Linked DNA regions of Homo sapiens: regions 2 and 3 are each linked to region 1. The links are contacts of gene promoters, found by promoter capture Hi-C in human tissues and cell types (Jung and others, 2019). All regions are on one chromosome and are shown on one strand. The core of a region is centred on a gene start or on the middle of the fragment in contact, and the rest is flanking DNA. Distances in the headings are between cores, read along the strand shown.

Region 1 (3,933 bases), core at 1-2,500:
AATCTAAAGAGTTGGAAGAATTTAATATTACACCAAAAGCCTTTTAATCCAGGAATGGCGCATACTAAGCAGTCATCAAATGGTGACTGTTATTAATATTATTCTTACCACAAGGAAAGCAGTGAATTTTTAAAAGTGCATATATTAGCATAGTAGGCTGAGGACCTATTTAACACATCTTTTTAAATTGCACTTAATTATCCTTAGTCGCCTTTGGACTGTAACTTTACAATATAATTTATGACCCGCCCACAATGACCTTGATTTTTTTTTCTCTTCTACTTTTAGAGACTGCTATATTGCAATATTTTAAAGTAATAATTGGTCATGTCCTCTCAGCCCTGGTGATACAGACATCCACCCTGACTCTCAAGGGATCTTAAAATGTGACCCACATATAGCTTGAAAAAGACCGTAACTTAAATGGACTCTGCAGTTACAATCCAGCGACCTGTTACAGTGAACAGTAACAAGTGCAAACTGCTGCCATCCATAAGCCATTTTCCGAAAACCTCTTTGGATCAAGAGGAGAGGAGTGAGAAGGTCAATAAAGGAGCAAACTGTTTGTCCTCTCTGCAGCTTCACACCAGAAGTCTGGAATGAATGAAAAGCTCTGGAATAGCACAGAGAAACCCGGGATCCCAGTGCAGGTCTCCAGACGGGGGTGCGGGGAGAGAAACTGTAGTTTACAAGCGAGAAACTCAGGATACAGATTTAAAATAAATAAATAAATAACTAGCCAACATCGTCTCGACTAGAGCAGGAACCCCCCACCCCCAGTTGAGGGAGGAGCACTTAGCAAGGGGCTGTAGCTCTAGCAGAAGACGCTCTGAAAAAGGCCAGGCCTGGGGCGGGGAGGCACCGAGAAACCCCCGGGTTCCAAACAGAGCAGGTGCAGGGGGCGTGCAGGAACAGGTGAGGGCGTCCCGGCGCGGAGGAGCGGCGGGCGGGCCCGGCAGAGCGGAGCGGGGGCCGGGGATGGGGGTGGGGGTGCGGATGGGGATGGGGGTGGGGGCGGCCGCTTCGCCCCCGCGCCTGCACACTCACCGTCGCCGCTGGCTCGCCTCTCGCTGCCGCCGCTCTCCCGACCGCCAGCAGCTCTTTCCCCTCCTCCTGCCGCGCCACCTCCGCCTCCTCCGGCGCCGCCGCCCAGGCCGGGCCGCTCTCCCCTTCCGCTTCCGGGAGCCTGAGGGCCTGGACCGGCCGAGTGGGTGTCCGCATGCCCGCGCGCCCGCGTGGGGAGGGACGACTGCCGCCGTCGCCGTCTCGCTTAGCTCCCGGGAGCCGCGATGGGAGCCGCTGAGGGCCGAAACTCCTGCAATCGCGCCGCAGCCCCAGAGCCGCGGACCCAGGCAGACCGCACTCTCCAGAGCGCTTGCACCTGGCGCGCCTGGGCGCCTCTGCCCCTCCCCAGCCCTACTTGAGCCGTCCTTCTCATTGTCCCCATATCCTCACTGCTCACCTCTCCCGAGAGACAGGATGGGGGCCTTAGCTTAAAAGATTGCATGTATCCTTTCTTCGGGGGATGTGGCCAGCAGGCCTCTCTCCCCGCAGGTGTTCTGGGATGTCCCATGGTACCTTGCTTCAAAGCGCGGTCTGCAGCATCAGCATCCTCTGGGAACTCACAATCTTTGAAATGCACAATTTCAGGCCTGCTGAATCAGTACATGCACTTCAGCAAGATCACCAGGTGACTCCTGGGGTGCACCGTAAAGATGGAAAAGCATTGCACTGTAGTGCATGGTCTCGTCCACTTCAGACCCTCTATTGGGTTGCCTCAGACATCCCAGGATATTTCCTGTTCCTGTCCTCAACCTAAATCCACACCCAAACAATCTTTTCTTATATTTTGGGAGACCTCCAAAAGTTTCCTGCTTTCCCATCCCTGCAAAAGCCGACAACTTTTGGACTCAGCGATGCAAGTAATCCACCTCTCAGTCTAACTTGGTATCTTCACCAAACACCAGAGATCTACTAACTTTCCCACCTCACTCCGGCTGAACAGTATTTGGGGAAGGTTAAACCGTTTGCAGTAATGTGGAGCTAGATCTTTCTGCCCACGTGCCACAGGAGGAGACAGTGTGTTGGTGGAAGAAATATTACCTGTTGTATAAAATCTGTATTCCTTATAAGATGTGCTTAAAAGCCCTCCACAGACACATCCCTACCTACCTCTCCAGTCTTAGCTCCAACTAATTTGGTTCATTTCCCCATTCTAGAATGCCCTGCTCTCTGATGATCTTAACCCTATCCAGATTTGAGAGTGGAAATCTTGCCAAACCAGAGTTCTCTCACCACTGCCCTTATATAGTGCACATTGTTGCCTGTTTGGGGCCTCATATTACCTTGTATTGCTAAGGATTTTTAAACATGTTGTGTCCTGGTTTCTGAACTAATTATAAACACCTTGTGACCTTAAAAACTTTGGTCAGTGGTTATCAAAGTGGGATCCCTAGACCAGCAGCATCGGTATCACCTGTCAACTTGTGAGAAATCCATATTCTTTTGCCCCATCCCAGATCTACTGTAGTAGAAACTGTTTAGGTGTAGCCCAGCAATCCGTGATGTAACAAGCCTTTTAGGTGATCCTAATACACACTCAAGTTTTAGAATTACTGACCTAGATTACTAGATATTCCCAAAAGAACCCAGTGGTAGGAATTGATTTACCCATAAGCAGATTTTATTGCCTTTCAGGTTAACAAATACACTCCCCGATATATGCATAGCGAGGTTGAAAGACTAGTCACGATTGCTTTTGATAGAATTACCTTTATTTTTCATAAATCATTTGATGTAGTAGGATTTTTGTAACTTTCTCTGTTTGAAAAGAAGGAGATATTTCATATAAACAATCACTTTGAAGGAAGAGGAAATGTGGAATCCTCCCACCGGAATCCAGCTACCTGATTGCGTATTCAATGTGAATCCCTTCTACCCAAATCCAGCTACCTGATTGCATATTAAATGTGGACTCCTCCCTACCCGAATCCAGCTACCAGAATTGCATATTAAATGTAAAATCCCCCCCCCACCCAAATCCAGCTACCCAATTGCATATTAAAAGTAGAATCCCCTCCACCTGAATCCAGCTACATGAATTGCATATTATTTTGCTTTCTCTTCAGATACCCCTGTGAGAGGGAATAATTTGTGACAAGTGATCTCAAAACTGCCAAAATAAGAATTAGTTGACAGGTCCATGATTGCACATGACAATTGGAAGTGCATGGATTTTTCAGTCCCTTTTTAAAATAAGTTAGCCTGTCTTTTATCAGCCAAATCAATTCCACAGAGAATTTTTAAGCAAGGGAATAGGAGAGAAGAGGCAGGAGAAACATCCTTAAAAACATGAACCTTTTTAGCATGGGCATTTCATGAGTATAATCAAAGGCCTGCCTATCCCTTACACTGAAGGTCAAGTCATCTGGTTCTATCATTCATGCTAATCATTGGTTATATTGTATTGCAACCCATACATTCAGGCACCTGGGTAACAATAAGGGGGTGAGGGAGATGTGGCATCAGGTAATCTTTTGAAAAGATTTTCTATTTACTGGGTATATTATGGAAAGACGATATAGATCGTACCATATTTTTTCCCTCCAGAATTCTAATCTACTTCATGGGGCCTGGGACAAACTGAAATGTGATTATTAATCAAACTAATATTTATCTGGAAGTAGAAAAAGTAGACAAGGACAAGTAGCATTGCTGCCACTGCCAACCAAGCTTCTAACAAAGGCACACTCAGGGCATTTATGAGGGTAAACACAGCCAACTCCTGTGCTTCTGTGCCGTGACTAGGGAGGATCTGGATTTTAGTGCAATTTCCAAAAATCAGTGCAGTCCAGAGTTTAATCAGTACTGGCTAATAGCCCTTGGCAGCTTTGGATGGATGGCATTCTCCACCTGCCCAGCTGGGTACCATGC
Region 2 (3,933 bases), core at 774-3,273, 380 kb before region 1:
AAACACAGTCCGTTTTCAAAGAGCGCTCTTAATGAGGCGAGCTTGCCAAGTTTACCAGCTGCAGCCCCCGTAAACCCAGAGCCCAAAGAAGAAAGGCGCTGGGGGGTGGGGAGTTCGGGAGGCCGGGGACGGGGGCTGCTGGGACTAGGAAGACAGGTAAAGTCGGGGAGATCGCGCGGACCCCTGCGAGTTAACCCTTTCGGCCACACGCCCTGGGAGCGGCCTCCCTGCGGTCCCCGCCCCTGCCCCGGCAAATCCTGGAGTCAGCGTTCTGACAACGTTAATTTCCTTTGTGCGGGTCATTTCTTCTTTTTGAAAAGCTGGGATAAAGTTGGCAGTCTTTATGGATGAAAGAAATGAGGTGACAGGGTTAATCCAAGTAAATACTCATTTCTCTCAGAAATTTTAGGCAACCTCATCTTAGATTAAACACACACAGACACACACACACAGAGAAACCACCAGCACGAAAGCATCACTTTGTATTGCACATTACACTGCATCCCCTTTCTCACCCTCACCAGATTCTGAGGGGAGGGGGTGGGGAAGCTCTACTGATAATACCAGCTTTAACTACTGCAGTTTCCCTTTGAACAAATATTCAATTTAACTGGAGTTAATTTACCATAAAAGACATTCCCCTTGGCAGGAATGCACTAATATCCTTGAACACACCTCTTTGAATGCCTGGACTCTCATAGAAGCCATTATTTCGGGGTCTCTTTAAAAATCGAGCGCCCATCTCTCCTTCTCTCCCTCCCTCCCTTCTTCCCTCCCTCCTCACCACACCACCCCCAGTGAAATCCTGGCACCCAGAGAGCACTCCTTTCAGCCTGAGAGCCCAGAACCAGCCGTTGTCCCCTGGCAAAAAGAGGCCCAGGGCTGAGCCCTGGGCAAGTGTCTCCCGACATCGCTACCCCTCCTCCCTTTATTAGTTTCCCTTTCCCAACAGAAACCATTTCCTTCTGCCACCAAAACTAGGTTGCATCCAAAAGTTTTTCACAAGCTTAAAAAAGAAAAACGAAAAATTGACAAGTATTACACAGAAGAGCCCACAAAAGCTTCAGCAACACCAAGGGCGAAGAAGCAGCGTCAGATCCAGGTAAGACCCCAGAGAAGTGAAGACGTCTGGGGCCTCCCAGGCCCATCACTTAGGGGTTCAAATCTCTTTCAATTGCCCCACGTTTGAGGGTGCTTATGGCTGGTTGCACTTTGATGACCATAGAGGATGCTTGATAGTTTTTGGTTTTGATTTGTTTCCCAGAAAAAGGAAAATGAGATAGGAGTATGGTGAGGCGAGGAAAACCAAAAAGGAATGAAGAGTGAGCAACAGAGACTTCCTGAAAAAGAAGGTTTATGGGGGTGCTCAGTTTCTATGGCTTTGACTGTCTTCTCAGGCCTTGCAGCCATGTGGAGAATGGCTGACACCCCCCAAAACACTTCTTCTTGTCCAGCCAATGCCAAGGTCATTGCAGGCCTTCCCTGGAAGAACTCTAGGGAGTTGTTTGGAAAGAGGGACTGGTGGATTTCGGTGCATGGGATGCCTGGCTTCTCTTAACACAACACTTGTCCACCACCTTTGGTTTGAAAATCTCAATCTTTTAAATCCCAGGTAGAAGGAGGAACTGAGAAAGTGCCTGCATTGTATTCACTTTCCATTTTTTCTAGCACGTCTGTGTCGTGGTATTAAGAGTGGAAATATCTCTGAAAAGCTTCTGATAGTATCAAAATGGGCCAAACACTTCTTAAACTTTGGTACTTACCAATCCTAAACTCTTCATCTCTCCCTCCCACACTGAGAGGGTTAAAAGCACTGGTGTGACAGGCCACTTTCATTCACCCCAAAACCTGGCTGAGGAGGCAGAAAGAAGTGAATGATTCTCTCAGCAACAGGAAACTCTGTTATTTCAGTATTCTTAAAGATCTCCTCCCTAGATCTCCTTGCTGCCTTATAAGGGAAAAAAAAAAGTTTCCTTTCTAACTAACAGAAAGTTTATTGATTTCTAAATAGAATGCCAGTGCTTCAGCTCACTGGATTTTTCAAAACCCAGTTGTATATTTGAAATAAGCAACGCTACCACATTTGAGCCTTTCACTACGGATCTCCAGAGAGGAGCTTGACATCTCAAGTATCTAATATTGTTTTTCTTTTAACCTTTTCCTTCCTAAAGAAATTGCAGCGACAGGTTGCAAATCCTGGGCAGTTTCATGAAAGATTTCTTGGAACTTAACAAAGCTGTCATTTCCAATACACTCGATGCCTTTTTTTTTTTTTTTTTTTTTTTTTGGCTCTTGCATGTGGTTTGCAAGAAGGTTCAACTATTCTACACACCCTGGCTGCATCACCAATATCAATATTTAAAAACTAAATGCAAAAGAGACAGATGACCTCCTGACCCCAGAAAGCAGGCCTGCAAAACTGCAAGTATCTACTGCACCATGCCCTGGGATCTTTCCTTTTTCCAAATGAACCACAAAAATCATACATGTGTAGTCTGGAAAACACAAATTTATATCCACAAGGAGGAACACCAAAAATCCACTCATAAATGCATATATAAACAATCAAGAAGTATTGAAAGTGCCTGTACTTGATGAGAATTGCAAAATCAATTTTACCAGCTCAGGTAATCAAATTACCCAGCTCTTAAACTACTACTGAGTACTACTACTACTGTCTACTACTCTTAAACAAAAAACAAAATCATACCCAGCCCTTAACGTACTACTGTCAAATTAGGGTAGTAATTTTTTCCCCACCAGAGAATTCACAACTGGTTAGTTTCCCCACCCCCATTGCTAGCCCTTTGCACTGAAATGAATAAATAACCTTGGACCTTTTTCTCCTCCTCTGGGAGCTATTTGGTGTCCCCTGAGGACAAAAGTAAATGAGAAAAATGACGCTGTTAATAATGTCACTGCCGAAATGCCTCTACTCCACTGTTTAAAAAAAAAAAAAAAGCATCCCACTAAGTGTGTCTACATTTCTAGCATATTTACAAGTTATAATACAGTTCTGATCTCAACACCAACTGAGCCAGATTCCTCCACTAAGGTTATCCGGTTTTCACTTCTCAACAGAGATGAGGCCAGTGCATCAACAGAGATTCCCAACACTGTAAGACACTTGCTTCACAGATTACAAAGTCAGCAGTTGCCCTGTAACTTTTGCATGATGTATTTTAAACTTTGAAAATAGAGGTAATAGTTGCCTCACTTATCCACAATGTTACAAAGGTTCCATATACTCTCTCACACAGTGTCTCTTGTCTGCTGATATTGAGAGAGTTGCAGTTATTGCTCTTTTTCAAAATAGCTGACCTATAAAGTAAAACTATATGACCATTTTATTTCTACAGGTAAACTGGCTTCTATTACCCATATACACATGCCTTGTAACATAGGAAAACAGATGGGTTTTTAAGACAGGTATAGAAAGCTCTGTCCAAAATGGCTAAGTAGTCTTTACATTCTGTATTAAGTATAAAAAGTGCATGGCAGAGCAACTCAAACTTTCTGCACCCCTTTCTCTCATTTCTTCTTTGAAAACTGCATAACAATGCATAACAACAAAATTTCAAAGTCAAAGCAATGCATAACAACAGAATTGTGCATTTTAATTTTCAAATTAAAATTTAAGAAACAATTTTGTAATTACAAAGAAAAAACACAAACAATTGGGCCTAAACAAAATATATGTTCAGTAAACTTTATCTCTGAGTGTATCTGAAATTTTAACTACACAAGCCAATAAATTTCAAAGCAGTAATATTATCAAATTGTGTAATGTCAAAAACTCCAAAAACAAAGTTACAGATGTTCATGACATCACATTCACTCAAAATTATGCTGCTGTTCAGTCTGACCATATTAAAATTAAAGGGATGCCTATGTCTGCTAAAGAATAAAAATTTATTTTGGACCTCAAACAAT
Region 3 (3,933 bases), core at 953-3,452, 360 kb before region 1:
TCTTTATCCATGTCAATTCCACACTGTCTTAGTTACCATTGTGTCGTTATAAGAAGTCTTGAAATCAGGTAGTGTTAGTTCTCCAGATTTGTGCCTTCAATATTATCTTTGGATGAACTCTTCTGGTATTTTGTCTTGTTTTTAACAAGTTTTCTCCAAGAAACCTTGAATCTGCTCAGACCATGTTACAACATGAAGCTGCAATTAGCACCTGTGGATTTTAATTCCTTTATTCCCTTGGGCCTAAAAGTCATTTTTATTCAAAGATATGTTTTTATAAATGTATGAGCCCTGAAGGGAGTGGGATTGTGGTGGTATTTAACCAAATTATCATCAGCTATTATGGTAACTGACCACCAGCTGAGCACCTGACATTTTTGGAAAATGACTCTACAGACTGACCTCATGGGCCTGGGGAAACCCAGGTGGAAGGTGGGAAGGAGGAGAGCCACCTATTTATGGTAATGCTTACAAGTAACCAGGCATTGCTGGGTGTTTTGTATATAGCAACTCACTTTTTCTAAGATGCTTATAATCTCACTTCTAGAGATATGCTCTGAAGCTGCGGTCCATAAGCCTTTTCTGTAAAGGACTAGATATTTTAAGCAGGACCAGCTTCATGGGCATGGACCTGCGCAGTGGCCCAGAGCCTGTGCTTAGAAAGCTCCTGTGCTTGGTTTAATGCTCTGCAGTCACCACATCGAAACACTTTATTTATTTATTTATTTATTTATTTTGTGCTTTTTTCCCTTTTTATCTAAGTAAGAAGCGCTGCTGAATTTTTCAGTTGAAACTGGGCATTTTGTAGCCATAATGCCCAGATTTTAGGTTTTGCAGGTCATACACTCTCCGTCACAACTACTCAACTCTGCCAATGTTATACACAAAGGGGCCACGGACAATATATAAACAATGAGCCTGGCTGTGTTTCCATAAAACTTTATATATGGATACTGAAATTTGAATTTCATAAAACTTTTCCATGTCATGGGATATTATTCTTCTTTGTTTTTGTTCTTCCAACCATTTCAGAATGTAAAAACCATTCGTAGCTCTCAACCCATATAAGAGCAGTTAACAGGTTCTATTTGGCTTGTGGGTGATAGTTTTCTGGCTGCTACCCTAGGGAGACTCCTGCACATGTGCAGAAGGTAACATATACAAGAAGTTCTCAGTAGAATAGTCCATAAATGCTCCAGAGGAGAAACAAGCAAAAGTTCCCTCAACCACAGAATGGATAAATGCATTGTATTATTTATATACAACACACGGTTGAAAGAAAGAAGCAAGTCATAAAAGGATACATGCAGTATGATTTTATTTATGTAAAGTTCAAAAACAGGCATACAAAAGTGCTGAAATCAAAATAAAAAAGTAAAAGCAAGGAAATGATGGTGAGAAAAATCATAATAATGGTTACCTCTCAGGAGAGGGAGGTGATGGGGTGCGGACCTGGCAATGTTATATTTCTTGACTTGGGGTCATTATTGCATTGGTGTTTACTCTATATTCTTTGAATTAGACATTTTATGTGTATACTCGGAAGTGCACATCTCCTCACTTTAAAATTTCAGTTCTCATTTTCTAACCCTGAGTTGGCATTTGGAGCCCCACTGGGGTGGCGGGGGACACATGCCCAGGCCACACGTTTCCAACTTCCTAAAGCTCCTTTGATGTCATTTTGAAGACCTTTGGCATCCATCTGGCCTCGGGCTCCACACTTCCCAAGAAGAGTCTTGGCTTTTATACATTCAGCTGTTTTTCTTTTCAGTTTACTTTTGTTTCAGACACTGATGCTGTCTGCCAAATTCCCTCAAGGTCAAATCCATATTATTATGGGTTCCATTGTCTTGAAACCTTTCTGCTTATGAATTCTATGTTTTGTAATTTCAAGATGTAATTGTAAATAATTCAATTACATTAGACTGGGCAGTAAATGCATGTACTGGCCACTTTCCCTTTGTCCCTCTGTTCCTCGGTGTTGATTCTTTTCTTAATATTTTTACCTTCTGGCTCTCTATGTGTAGCTGTATGTTGCCATTAACTCAGGCAGGGCTAAATTGAAAGAAAAGAAAATACGTAGCCGGGCGCAGTGGCTCACGCCTGTAATCCCAGCACTTTGGGAGGCCGAGGCAGGCGGATCACAAGGTCAGAAGATCGAGACCATCCTGTCTAACACGGTGAAACCCCATCTCTACTAAAAATACAAAAAATTAGCCGGGCATGGTGGCGGGCGCTTGTAGTCTCAACTACTCGGGAGGCTGAGGCAGGAGAATGGCGTGAACCCGGGAGGCGGAGGTTGCAGTGAGCAGAGATCGCGCCACTGCACTCCAGCCTGGGTGACAGAGCGAGACTCTGTCTCAAAAAAAAAAAAGAAAAGAAAAGAAAAGAAAATATGTATTTGCGGTTGGAAAGGAAATGAGCTTAGGAGTAGAACAACTGGAGTTTGAACCTCTTTGCAATCTATCAGCTGTGTGTTCATAGCTAGTGACCTAACATCTGAGCTTCCCTTTATTTTATCTACAGAAGTGAAGGCTAATAATGAATACTGGAGAGAGTCATTGTGGGAAGTAGATCAGCAAAGATTAAACCAGAAAACATGTGAAATATACCTAGCTCATCACCTCAGCTACCGTGTGACTTGTGGTAGACACACAGTAATACATTAGGGTTTTCTCTTCTTTTCTTCTTTTCTTCCTTCCTTTCTTCCCTCCTTCCCTCATTCTTGTTTCTTTCTCTTTCCTTTATGTTATTACTTTTTTCCTTCATCCATCCATCTATCTATCCATCTCCCTCTCCTCCTTTCTCCTGCCCCTCCTTCCCCCCTTGGATCCCCCTCCCTTCTTTCCTTTCTTTCTGAACCTTTGCGATAGTTTTCCGTCTACTGTCACCAATCACGTTAACCCAGCAATTGCCTAAATAGAGAAAAGATGGTAGGCAGGTTGGGGACAGGAAAAATCAAAGATGGAAACATTCTGCTCATGAGCCTGGGAAAAGAGGACACACCATATTCTCCACTTTACTTGGCCATCCCATTTTAAACTTCTTGTTTCCCCTGAAACTCACAGGTTTGTTCAAATCTAGAAATTGCAGATCTGTAGCAAGTATCCTGTCAGAAAATGTAAAAAGCCTAGAAGAACTGAATCATGATTTTAGGGACAAAAATTGCTTTCACGTAAATCACTTGGAACCCTGTCTGACCTATTGTAAGCACTCAAAAATGTTGGCTATTATTACTATTATTGTTGTTGCTGTGATTATTATTGTTGTTCAGGACAACATCCCAGTATGTGCAACGGAAGTTGTAAGACTATTAGCTGCCTCGTTTGCTAAACGCACACCCAGGTTACAAAGAATGGCGATTCTTTGATAAAAGAATGGCTGATTCTTTGATCATTTCCCAATTTCCCCCGTTGTTTCCCCCTTAAACATTTCATTCTGCCTTTTCCAGAACAAACATCATTATAATCACTTCTTGTTCACATCTCTGATATCCCCATGGCTCTTGCTGCTCTCACTGGTAGTAGCAACACCTCTAAATTTACTACCATCTGCAAATATCATTAGCTATTGTTTATTCCCTCTCCCACACTATTAATGAAGATGTTAATTAAGACCAGAACTAACACTGACCCCAGCAGCAATCCACTAGACATTTATCCAACTGGATAAACTTCTGTTAGTCATTACCCACTGCTCATAGACATTACCACTACTCCATTCTCTTCATCTGCTAATTTGTAAGAGACTAGGGGAGAGAATTAAGGGAGCCCAGGATTATTTAAAAATTAACACCCTGATACTTGGGGTTTTGGAAAGGGATTTGGTAAAACATCAGAAAGACAGTCGTCAGTGGCATGCAGGAGTAAGTGAGCCAGCCTCCCAAAGTATTTGGTAATTGCCTGGCTAAGCTTATGGGTTTCTAAGAATTTA

What was found. The method cuts DNA at HindIII sites, captures the fragments that hold promoters and counts their contacts. A contact is called where the count stands out against the background at its distance.
Region 2: a fragment that was not itself captured here is called in contact with the fragment with the promoter of ZDHHC21 in region 1 in 1 of the 25 tissues and cell types used here (dorsolateral prefrontal cortex).
Region 3: a fragment that was not itself captured here is called in contact with the fragment with the promoter of ZDHHC21 in region 1 in 1 of the 25 tissues and cell types used here (dorsolateral prefrontal cortex).

Annotation. Positions count from the first base shown.
Region 1 is chr9:14,692,182-14,696,114 of GRCh38, forward strand. ZDHHC21 (zDHHC palmitoyltransferase 21) reads right to left here and starts at 1,251. Exons shown (of 10, transcript NM_178566.6): 1 at 1,048-1,251. RefSeq lists silencers at 893-1,032, 1,113-1,182 and an enhancer at 1,256-1,756. The HindIII fragment of the contact is 8,706 bases long and covers 1-3,933 here.
Region 2 is chr9:14,316,244-14,320,176 of GRCh38, forward strand. It overlaps NFIB-AS1 (NFIB antisense RNA 1), which reads left to right and starts at 844. Exons shown (of 2, transcript NR_186536.1): 1 at 844-1,102. It also overlaps a transcript of NFIB not described here. The HindIII fragment of the contact is 6,213 bases long and covers 1-3,933 here.
Region 3 is chr9:14,336,032-14,339,964 of GRCh38, forward strand. The region is part of intron 1 of NFIB-AS1 (NFIB antisense RNA 1); the gene reads left to right. It also overlaps a transcript of NFIB not described here. Among named protein-coding and RNA genes, the nearest start is that of NFIB-AS1, 21 kb to the left of the region's middle. The HindIII fragment of the contact is 5,546 bases long and covers 1-3,933 here.